4 separate regions of the Homo sapiens genome follow, and regions 1, 2 and 4 are each linked to region 3. The links are contacts of gene promoters, found by promoter capture Hi-C in blood cells and fetal thymus (Javierre and others, 2016). All regions are on one chromosome and are shown on one strand. Each heading gives the region's core, a stretch centred on a gene start or on the middle of the fragment in contact. The rest is flanking DNA. Distances are from core to core; before and after follow the strand shown.

Region 1 (2,713 bases), core at 118-2,617, 540 kb before region 3:
GCTGAAAATGGGTGAGAATGGATGACGGCAGGATTCTAGAACCTACTATTGTCGTTGTCAGTAATGAGTCACAAAAGTCACATAGCGAACATATGAAACACACAGTATAATTATGCTGCTCATTTGCACACGGGTAACACAAATCTTGTCCACAGCCTGTTCCGAAGCTACAATCCAAAAAATGGCATTTGGCTTCTGCCTCAAATAACAGAAAGTTGAATCCAAATACAAATTTTTATACTAATTATTATTTTCTGTCATTCTTCATCTTGTTTGCTAACCATTTAGCTTGAATATTAACACAAATATTTGTTGACAGTGTGCAATTATATGCACTGTGAAGGATGCAAAGGAATTTAACATGTTCCCAGACTTCAGAATTGGCATCAATTGACTCAAAAGGGAACCAAAGATGAGTATCAAACCCAGGCCTTCATTCTTTATTTTTTGGTTCCTCTTTAACATTTTCCACTTTCCTACTAGCAGATTCTGACATCTGAGTCAAGATTACTTGTCTTTAATCATGTTAGTACTGACTCGATCTATTTATATGTTAGAGTAGCTAGCACTAATCGAGCTTCTACTATGTGCCAGGCATTCATGTCACAAGCATAGACCATTCAGTTAGTTCTCAGGACCCTATCTAGTATTTATTATCGTCCTCATTTTACAAATGAGAAAATTGAAGCCTAGAGATTAAAGAACTACTGTGAGGTCACAGCCTAATGTCTCATGGCTAGGAAACATGTAGGTGCAAAGAGGGGAGGTGGACTGAGATTTACATTTTTTCTAGCTGTTTGGAGTATTATCAGTTATAAGATAATGCACTAGAGGGCGCTAAATACACAAGCTTTAGCTGTTTCCATAATGCAGTTCCCACAGTAGTGAAAGATATATAATTGGTAATGGATGCAAGCCAAAAAGGCCCTCCCCAAAAAAGATGCAATTTATGATAACTGAGAAGCTGTATTTCTGTCCCCTCAATTAAGAAAAACCCTCATTTTATATTGAGCAATATTTATATTTTGTCTCTAATTTGATATTGATTGCTATTCAAAGTTCCTTTCAGTTAGAAGTTTAATTTTTCCTTGTTCTGCCTGCTGAATGACAAAGGGAAAGGGTAGAGTAACCTGGATGAAAATAAATTTTTAAAAATTGCACTGAGATACATTGCATCTTTTAAATTTTATTTAGCAAAGTTAAACATACATATATTTTAAAAGAGAAAAAGAGGAACTCACCCAACCCTCATATCCAAGAGCTTAAAATCACAGGAACTCAAGACCCATCCTCAACTTCAAATGCCAGTCATTATTTTAGAGGTAACTCAGATTTCTAAGTAATGCTTCTGTTTCTCGATTTATCAAATAGACATTATTTATTTTGTTTTCCTACATGAGAATTGAGTAGTTAACAGAATACCCATCTCTTATCAGTAACAAAGATTTACAAAATAACTTTTGTTTTTCATAATTACAAAAGCAATACATTATTATTGAAGAACATGTTTTAAAAAAAGACAAAAAGTAACAAAACTCTCCATTATCCCAACAGGCAGAGGAAGTTATTACCATTTTAATGCATATCCTTAACACATACATGTAAAAGATACATATACACATAAAAATATAAATGTTTAACAGAAATTACTTTGTACACAATATTTGATTAAACTATGATCTGTCTTCTTTCATTTTCGTTTTATTGTAGTAAAATTTACATAAAATGCATAAATCTTAAATCTATACATTTTTACATTACATAGAAATGTGTAATTATATACTCCATGCTCCCTCCCAATCAGTGCTGCCTCAAAACGAACTGCTCTTCTAATTTTAGAGCTTAACTCTTCTCGTCTCTATCACCACAGATTAGTTGTATTTTTAAGCTTCATGTAAAATTTTCCATGTCAACTTTGAAAACATGACAGTTAAAAGTTCTAAGGAATCTCCAGTTCTCCAACTGGTGTGGGAATCAGATAACTTGACTCCAGTGTGAATTGTGGTTACTGATGGTATCACTGAGTCTGTTATGGGCCACCCAGTCTTAAGGGCCAAGAATTTATGGCCCTGCAGGGATTGCAGAAAGAAACCAAACCGAAGTTCATAACTCAGCCTAAAAGGAGAAAGTTCTATTACTCAGTATCTCAAGACTAAGTGGATCATAAATGGTGTCACAAGTTTGCAGTTTTTTTTTCCTGTGGAAGATAATAATCTTTTGTATGTTTAATTCGTTATCATTGCCTTATAAATTATCACAAGCAGCACAGATAACTACTGGAGTCATCAGTGCAACTTAAAACAACAAAACTAGCATTTCTCACTTGCTGTTTTTCAGACACCTCCCATCATCTGCACCTGGTCCCCAAACCAGCTGTCCATGAGCAATGACAAAGAACTAAAGCGGGGATGGGGGAGAGGGGGTGTAGGGCCCAAGAGCTGGGGAGCATTATGGCTTGCTGTCAGCTGGCAGTCTAAGATGTACTTGGGAAGATGTTTCATACCCATTTTCCCTGTGAAATTAAAAATGTGATGCTACCAAACCTTTGCTTGTCCACCACCCTTAAAAGAATACTCATTCAGTACAAAGCCCTGCAAAAAGGAGTGAGCCAATTTGAATAAAAGCGGAAACTTCGTAGGAATTAGGAGCCTGAAAGGCTGCGTGAGAGATCGCAAACATATTGAGGCGTTCTTGAAACACCTGCTCTCTGATT
Region 2 (2,874 bases), core at 326-2,825, 530 kb after region 3:
AAAGTAAAAAAGGGAAGACAGCTAACACTGCAGGAAAAAGTTACAATCAAATCTTATTTTGAATGCATTCAGGGAACCCTCTATTTAGATCACCAAGGTAAATTCTTCTGTAAATCAAATCAATCTATTCTTAATTTGTATTTAAGAAGACCAAGCCTTCTACTTTGGGGCTTGTTTAAAGCAAAATCCACCTTACTTGCCAAGTCAGGTCTGTAGCCATTTTTGCATGGTCCGTGAACTAAGAATGATTTTAAATGAAAAAAAAATCAAAAGAATAATTTCACAATACATGAAAATTATATAAATTCAGATTTCAGTGTGTCTATTCATTGGATCACAGACATTCGTTTGCATATTTTCTATGGCTGTTTTTGCATTAGAGGAGAGTTGAGTCTCTGTTTTAGAGGCTAAATGGTCTGCAAAACCTAAAATGTTTACTGTCCAGCCTTTACAGAGTTTGCCAACCTCTGGGTTAAAGTGTGGTATTTCTTATGCTGAGGTTGGAGTGACCCCCAAATAAATGGTTTTGCTGGTGAGGAGCCTTCAAAGGGCTGGCTGAATGAGAATGCCTGGCCTTCCAGAGCCTTCTTTGGCCAGCAGGAGCATCTGTGTGATGCCACTGTGCAGTGAACTCATCTTAACCGCATGAATGGGCGAGCAGCTGTCCAGCAGCTGCCCAGAGACCCAGACCGGCTCTCAGGTACTGTGTGGCCTGGCTGAGGGCATCTGGGGGCGGGGCAGGGGCTCAGTGGGTGCAGCCCTTGAAAAATTCACCAGAATTAGACTCTGATGTCTCCATTTGATCTTTTCTTCCCTCCTTGTCTTGCCTTTTCAAAAGGCGACTCTTTTCTGTGGCCTTTTCTTCTTTCTTTTGGCTTATATGATCCCTGCATCATTATTTCCCAAAAAAGAATGTGGCAAAGTAACTTTTTGAAATATTAATGAACCCCCTTTTTCCTTTTTTCCCCTCCCTCCCTCTCTCTCTCCCTTGTTTCCTTCCTTCCTTCCCTCCCTCCCTCCTTCCCTCCCTCCCTCCTTCCCTTCTTTCTGGCAAGGTCTTGCTCTGTCACCCAGGCAGGAGTACAGTGGTGCAATCACAACTCATTGCAGTCTCGATCTCCCAGGCTCAAGTGATCTTCCTGCCTCATTTTAAATTTTTCTGTAGAGACAAGGTCTCAATATGTTGCCCAGGCTGGTCTCAAACTCCTGGGCTCAAGTGATCCTCCCACCTTGGCCTCCCAAAATGCTGAGATTACAGGTGTGAGCCACTGTGCCTGGCCCGTCTTTTTTTTATTTTACCTCTCCTTTCCTCAAACTCTCTGCCTCCTCAGTGAAGCAGCTAGGCTGTTCTGTCCTCCTGTTTCAGGGGAGTAAGGGGTTGGGCAGGGAGTTTTTCTGTCTTAACTTCAGGGAGGCCTGAGAATTCTCAGCAGAAATTGTTTCAGCGAACATCAAAATAGAGCAAGACTTCTCCCACCTCCTTGAGGTGGGTAGGGAAGCAGAGAGGGATGCTCAGTGCAGAGGAATCAGTGAGTGAGGGGAAAAGACATAGCATCTGAAGACACAGAGGCCAGCACTCAGGACCTCCATCAGAGGACCACGTGAAAGGCAGGTTCAAGTCCACCTTGACCACTCAGCCTCCATTGCAGTCGGTGGCATCTAGTGCCACTGGCTGGCCTTCCTTCACTGTGGTGGGGATTTCTTTCTGCAGCAGCCAGTACTTCCTTGGTGACTCCATACAGAGCATGACACCGTCCCAGCCTCCAGCTTTGGTTCTTTCCCCATCTGACATGCCCTAGGAATTCACTGCCTTTGCAGTTTCACTGGATCTGAGTTAATCCAAGAGATAGACAAAGGGGTATTGAGTGAACAAGATGACCAGCACATCCTAGGTTCCCAGAGTTCCCAAAGCTGGGTTGAGACCTCACAGGCCGGGCTGGTGGTAATGCCCAGGGTGTGTGTGTGTGTGTGTGTGTGTTCGTTCCTTGGCACTCACATATGTTTGTGTGTCTGTGAGGCTGTGTGATGGGATCTGGGAACTGGTGGAGGATGAGAATAAAGGATGGAGCGCTAAGGAGTCAGGCAGGCAAAAACAACCCCCACACACCATGCGGGTGTATGCCTCCCGGGTCCCATGCACCTGGGTATGTGAACCCTGCCACCCTCCTGCACAAGAGCCCAGTCTACTGTGCCTGAAGAGGCTGGACCTGACGCCGGCCTTCCCTTTGCTTCATTTGTGAGATGCCGGCTAGTCCAGTCTGACTTCAGGAGAGCATCTCTGGCTTTTCTGCTCCATTCCTAGTTTTGGTTCTTCCTTAGGAGGCCCCGCAATGGAGGGAGGAATAGAGCAGAGAAGAGGCGGCATTTCCTCATCTCCCCACACTCTGGCCTAGGACCTTGTGATGACTTTCTCTAATTTCAGAGGTGGAGACAGACTTCTTCCAGCCCCCTCCTGTGAAGGGACAGTGGGGCCAACTTCCTTTCCTCTCCTGTGCCAGGTCTTAAAAGCCTGACCTGCATTTTGCAGAAGTCAGGACCGGCTTGAGTTCAATTACAGTAGATTGCTTGATCTCATTTATTTTCTCCTGTATGCTTGAAGTTAGGACAGCTTTAATTTGAAATGGAAATTTATGCAAATACTATGTAAATTAGGTCATTCCCAGATTAACTGGGGGAAAAAATCTGGTCGCCTTAGCAGGCACCATCTGTTCCCTCCTCATTCTTTCCATATCTGAACCCCACCCCCCCTTTCCCAATCAACTTTGAAACTTGTTTTCCTGTGGCTGAGAAGAGAGATCGTTCAAGGGAAGGAAACTAATCCCCCATCAGTTTTCCAGGTGGGTCGTTCCAATGTCTGTTTTGCGGTGAGAAGAG
Region 3 (3,124 bases), core at 87-2,586:
GAGTTCAAGGCTGCAGTGAGCGATGATCACGCAACTGCACTCCAGCCTGGGCAACAAGAGCAAAATTCTGTCTCAAAAAAATTAAAAAAATAAAAATAAAAAAACCAAAAACATGTTCACAAGGAGTTGTTAAGTACGTACTGTTGGCTACTTTCCTAATGTTTGAACCTAACAATTGCCTAACCAACCCCTTTTCAATAGTGTTGTACAGTCTGATTTTCGACAGATCCCTCAATAGTCGAGGCTCCCCCAGGCCAATGGGGCATAGTCATTTCATAGATGATTAGAGGCTTGGGGATGGGGGGGAGGGAACCTTAGTAACCCTTTATTTTTGGAATGGAAAAAAAAAGTAGTCTGACGGGACCAAATATTTTAAAAACTAAACTCTTTGCCAACCCTACTCGGCAGGCAACGAAGGTGTGCTTCTAAACACCTCTGCGCAGGGCTGACGAGGAGGACTCGAATTTCAGCTTGCACAGCAGCACCTCCATCCACTCGTTAAGCATTCACCCAGCTTGAGGGCTGGAGAAAGCACTCTGAGTCTGCAGCCCGTCCACTCCTACTCTGGGAAATGCATACAAAGCAAGCAGTCCCCAGAGCCCGCGTGGCGCCTAGTAGGCTCCCAGTGAGCGGCGACGCAGGACACAGGGGTGGAACACGTGGGCTGGACCCACAGAAGGCAGGCGCGGCGAAGCAGTGGCACCGTGAAGGGCTTCAGGGCCAGTGTTCCTCTGACGGAGGGACAAGAGTTTAGGGAGCGTCCGGGGCAAAGAAAGGGAGGAGTGGGAAGGGGGCCCCCGGGGGACAGCGCCGCGCGGGGAGGAGGGGAGCGCTCGGGCGCGGCGCCTCCGGACGACTGGCCGGGCAGAGCGGAGCGGGGAGCGGGGAGCGGAGAGCGGCGCCTGCACCGCCGAAGCGCAGGACCCACTGGGTTCCAACCGTGCTCCCGCTGGCACGATCCATAATGGAGGCGCCGCGGGCTCTGACCACTGCGGGGCCGCCTTCCCAGTCCGCCTTCCCAGTCCGCACTGCCTCTTGGGGCGGGGCCCTGGGGCTGGGGCTGGGGCCAGGGCCAGGCCGAGGAGCCCCGGCGGCCGCGGGGAGGCCGCGCACTTACCCGGAGCCTGGGAGCGCGGGCGCGGCGTGAGCTGGGCGGCGAGGTGGCCAGCGCTCTGGTTGGGACGCAAGAGAGCGGCGAAGGCCACTTGGATGAGCCAGCGGCTAGGGCGGCCAGGCAAAAGCAGCGCTTTCCGCGCGGAGGACCAGATGCGCTCCAGCCGACTCACCGGCGGCCGGGCTCGCACACGTGCGGCGCAGCGACGCGCCGCGGCCCGACTGGACCCGCCCCGGGGGCGGAGTCCGCTCCCTGCCGCCGGCCCCGCCCCCGGCCCACCCACTCGGAGCGGCCTGCAAGCCAGGGAGCGCCCCAACGCGGACTCCCAGCCTACGCGCGTTCACCCTGGACCTTCCTCGCGACCGCGCCTGAGTCGCACCAGCGGCAGAGAGCGATTTCACCAAGCATCTAAGAGTTCTTTAGATCTTTAGGAAGTCTAAGGCAGCGATTGCCTCCTTTGGTGTTATATTCTAAGTGTTTCCTTCACATAGTTGTGGCCCTTTCACGTTGCACCGACCACGCAGTTGACAATAATGGAAAGAGAATCACTTTAGGGACTAAATATTGTTCTACATTTGATCCTGGGAATGTAGTGGATCTAAAAGCACCATCTTCCTACTTCTTACCGCTCTGGCTTGATGGCTTGCCATAGGATCTGCTTCAAGAAACCGGATCATAGGTTTTTTTTGTTTTGGTTTGGTTTGGTTTTGACAGAGTCTCGCTCTGTCGCACAGGCTGGAGTGCGGTGGCGTGAACACAGTTCACTGCAGCCTCGACCTCCCAGGCTCAAGCAATCCTCCCACTTCAGTATCCCAAGTAGCTGGGACTACAGGTGCATCCCACCGCACCCAGGCTAATTTTTTTGGGGGTGGGGGGTAGAGACAAGATTTCACTATGTTGCCCAGGCTCTAATAGTTTTTTTGCTTTTTGTTTGTTTGTTTGTTTTTTGAGACGGAGTCTTGCTCTGTCGCCCAGGCTGGAGTGCAATGGCGCGATCGCTGCTCACCGCAACCTCCGCCACCCGGGTTCAAGCGATTCTCCTGCCTCAGCCTCCCGAGTAGCTGGGATTACTGGCGCACGCCACCATGCCCGGCTTATTTTTTGTATTTTTAGTAGAGTACGGGGTTTCACTATGTTGGCCAGGCTGGTCTCGAACTCTTGACTTCGTGATCCGCCCGCCTCCGCCTCTGTGTTGAGATTACAGGCGTGAGCCACCGCTCCCAGCCTCTAATAGTTTTTCCGTTTTGTTTTATTTTGTTTGAGAGAGAGTCTCACTCTGTTGCAGGGTTCAAGCGATTCTCCTGCATCAGCCTCCCGAGTAGCTGGGCCTACGAGTGCTTGACATCATGCCAGACTAATTTTTTTGACGGGGTTTTTGCCTGTTGGCCTTGAACTCCTGACCTCAAGTGATTTGCCTGCCTAGGCCTCCCAAAGTACTGGGATTATAGGCATGAGCCACCATGCCCTGCCCAATTTGTTTTTTTGTTTTGTTTTTTACACAATGAAATATACTATTACCGGCCGGGCGCAGTGGCTCACGCCTGTAATCCCAGCACTTTGGGAGGCCGAGGTGGGCGGATCATGAGGTCAGGAGTTTGAGACCAGCCTGGCCAACATGGTGAAACCCCGTCTCTACTAAAAATACAAAAAATTACCCAGACGTGGTGGCACGCGCCTGTAATCCCAGCTACTTGGGAGGCTGAGGCAGGAGAATCGCTTGAACTCAGGAGGCGGAGGTTGCAGTGAGCTGAGATCGCACCATTGCACTCTAGCTTGGGCAACAAGATGGAAACTCTGTCTCAAAAAAAAAAAAAGAAATATATTATTACCATACAATTCAGCAATTACACTCCTTGATATTTACCTAAAGGAGTTGAAAACTATGTTCACACAAAAACCTGCACAAGTATGTTTATAGCTGCATTATTCATAATTGCCAAAACTTAAGGACGGGCCGGGTATGGTAGCTCACGCCTGTAATTCCAGCACTTTGGGAGCCCGAGGTGGGCA
Region 4 (2,710 bases), core at 98-2,597, 510 kb before region 3:
AACATTAAAGCTTGTCAGAAATCCAATAGGGGCCAGGCACTGGGCATAATGTACAGGCAATTATGTGTGATGAAGAGGTGCACAGGCTTTACAGTACAGTATATTCACTTTTTTTTTTTTTTTTTTTTTTTTTGAGACAGAGCCTCCCTCTGTTGCCCAGGCTGGAGTACAGCAGTGTAATCTTGGGCTCACTGCAACCTCCACCTCCCAGGTTCAAGCAATTATCATGCCTCAGCCTCCTGAGCAGCTGGGATTACAGGCACGTGCCACCATACCCAGCCTGGATTCACTTTTCTATGTAAAAAGGAAGTTTACAAATTTCTGAGAGTTTAGTTGCCAAATTCTGACCTAGCATATAAGAATTCAAGTGTTTAATAAATCAGTAGCAATTTTCCCAAATCCAGAGTTTGATACGGAGCTAAACCATGTCATGAGCTCACCCATCATTCGAGTTACTTTGCCCCTTATCAATGAAGTCATTGGAAGTAGTAGCAACCTGGTTTGAGAGGGTTATGTGGTACATCGTTTCACAAATTTCAGAAATAATTTATACTACTCTACTTTCTAAGGAAGGTGGAAACCTAAAGTGGGTGAATAGCTGAACACTTGGAACGCTCGGATTTATTTTCCTATAGGTGGGGGTCTTGCTATGTTGCCCAGGCTGATCTTGATCTCTTGGCCTCAAGTGGTGATCCTCCCACCTAAGCCTCCTAAGTAAATGGGACTACAGGCGTGTGCCAGACACCTGGCTAATATTTTAAAAAAATTATTTGTAGAGACAGGGGTTTCATCATGTTGCCCAGCTTGGTCTCAAGTGATCCTCCTGCCTCGGACTCCTAAAAGTGCTGGGATTACAGGCTACTTGCAATTCCTTTTTTTTTTTTTTTTTTGAGACAGGGTCTCACTCTGTCCCCCAGGTTGGAATGCAGTGGTGCGATCTCAGCTCACTGCAACCTCCACCTCCCCAATTCAAGCAATTCTCATGCCTCAGCCTCCTGAGTAGCTGGATTACAGATGTGCACCACTACGCCCAGCTAATTATTTTGTATTTTTAGTAGAGACAGAGTTTTGCCACGTTGGCCAGGCTGGTCTTGAACTCCTGGCCTCATGTGATCCACCAACCCTGGCCTCCCAAAGTGCTGGGATTATAGGCATAAGCCACCATGCCTATAATCAGCCAGCAATTACTTTCAAATGCTATCTATCATTTGTGGGCATTACATAATAATCTAACAATAAAAGGTATTGCTTAGGATAGTTATGAATAATTTAAAAATTATTATAAAGCTAATCAGACTTAGGTTAAATATGTTATGCACTGGCGTATAATCTATCTTAAAAAACAAATGCAATCAGTTCCTTTTCCTTGGCCTAAAATGTAGACCGACCCAAGATCTCAGCTTTCTTGCTAAATTTGTCTCCTATTAAGACTGAATCTACCCTGTTTTGGCTTTTATCTGTGAAGACTATCAAATGTCAATTATTTTTCTTGAAAGTCAATTCCTTCTTCTTCCTTATACCCACCCAGGCAACAATTACGGATGTTTCTGTAATAACTTAGATTCCTTCTTTATCACTCCTGCTCTGATTCAGGCTCTTCTTGCTACATTGAGGGCTCTAAAAGCCAGTCTCTTCTGGGTTGAAGACAGGTATGTTTTAAAGTAAGTCTTTCTCTGTCCTGTGCCACACCTCATGCCTGTAATCTCAGCACTTTGGGAGGCCAAGATGGGCGGATCACCTGAGGTGGGGAGTTCGAGACCAGCCTGGCCAACATGGCGAAACCCCGAAATACAAAAATTAGCCAGGCGCGGTGACAAGCGTCTGTAATCCCAGCTACTGGGGAGGGTGATGCAGGAGAATCACTTGAACCCAGGAGGTGGAGGCTGCCGTGAGCCGAGATCGTGCCACTGCACTCCAGCCTGGGCAACTGTGCAAGACTCTGTCTCAATTAAAAAAAAAAAAAAAAAAAAAAAGGCCAAGTCATCCTTCAGACAGTGTAAGTAGGGCAAAGATTATGAACTCTGGTGAGGTCAGGGAGACAGATGTTAAAGTTAATGCTCTGCCACCTTGGGTAAGATTATATATAAAGTATATACAACAGCATCCAACAGTTCGGTGTATTACGAGAGCATTCTCTTTTGTGGGGAGGGAAGTCACACTAGCAGTTAAGGATTTCTCGTCTGGCCTTAAGTCAAGACTTTCCAATAATTCCCCTGTTCTCTCATTAATGTCACTAATGACCTGATGTGGCATTACCTTGCTAATTAAAAAAACAAAAATCCCAAACTCTTGTTATTCCTAAATCCTTACTTCCAACTGTTATTCTTACATCAAACTATACATAAAGAAATGGAAGTAGCATTAAAACTGAGCTAAGTTTAGGATGGGCACGGTGGCTCACGCCTATAATCCCAGCACTTTGGGAGGCTGAGGCAGGCAGATCACCTGAGGTCAGGAGTTCAAGACCAGCCCGGCCAACATGGTGAAACCCTGTCTCTACTAAAAATACAAAAATTAGCTGGGCGTGGTGGTGTGCGCCTGTAGTTCCAGCTACTCACGGACTGAAGCAGGAGAATCGCTTGAACCCAGGAGCCGGAGGCTGCAGTGAGCTGAGAACGTACCACTGCACTCCAGCCTGAGTGACAGAGCAAAGCTCCTTCTCAAAACCAAAAAACAAAACTGAGCTAAGCTTAAACTGGTAGAATGAAGT

The links. The method cuts DNA at HindIII sites, captures the fragments that hold promoters and counts their contacts. A CHiCAGO score of 5 or more calls a contact.
Region 1: a contact is called between a fragment that was not itself captured here and the fragment with the promoter of PUS7 in region 3, in 2 of 17 cell types (fetal thymus and erythroblasts). The highest score is 9.3, in fetal thymus.
Region 2: a fragment that was not itself captured here is called in contact with the fragment with the promoter of PUS7 in region 3 in 1 of 17 cell types (naive CD8 T cells); the score reaches 5.1 in naive CD8 T cells.
Region 4: a contact is called between a fragment that was not itself captured here and the fragment with the promoter of PUS7 in region 3, in 1 of 17 cell types (neutrophils). The highest score is 8.3, in neutrophils.

What each region holds. Positions count from the first base shown.
Region 1 is chr7:104,980,577-104,983,289 of GRCh38, forward strand. LINC01004 (long intergenic non-protein coding RNA 1004) reads right to left here. Exons shown (of 1, transcript NR_039981.2): 1 at 1,171-2,713. Among named protein-coding and RNA genes, the nearest start is that of LINC01004, 9.2 kb to the right of the region's middle. The HindIII fragment of the contact is 1,038 bases long and covers 849-1,886 here.
Region 2 is chr7:106,052,647-106,055,520 of GRCh38, forward strand. No RefSeq gene overlaps it. Among named protein-coding and RNA genes, the nearest start is that of SYPL1, 58 kb to the right of the region's middle. The HindIII fragment of the contact is 6,086 bases long and covers 1-2,874 here.
Region 3 is chr7:105,520,935-105,524,058 of GRCh38, forward strand. PUS7 (pseudouridine synthase 7) reads right to left here and starts at 1,337. Exons shown (of 16, transcript NM_019042.5): 1 at 1,118-1,337. RefSeq lists enhancers at 164-818, 2,102-2,602 and silencers at 361-506, 716-1,465. The HindIII fragment of the contact is 10,027 bases long and covers 1-3,124 here.
Region 4 is chr7:105,006,818-105,009,527 of GRCh38, forward strand. No RefSeq gene overlaps it. Among named protein-coding and RNA genes, the nearest start is that of KMT2E-AS1, 6.0 kb to the right of the region's middle. The HindIII fragment of the contact is 2,679 bases long and covers 9-2,687 here.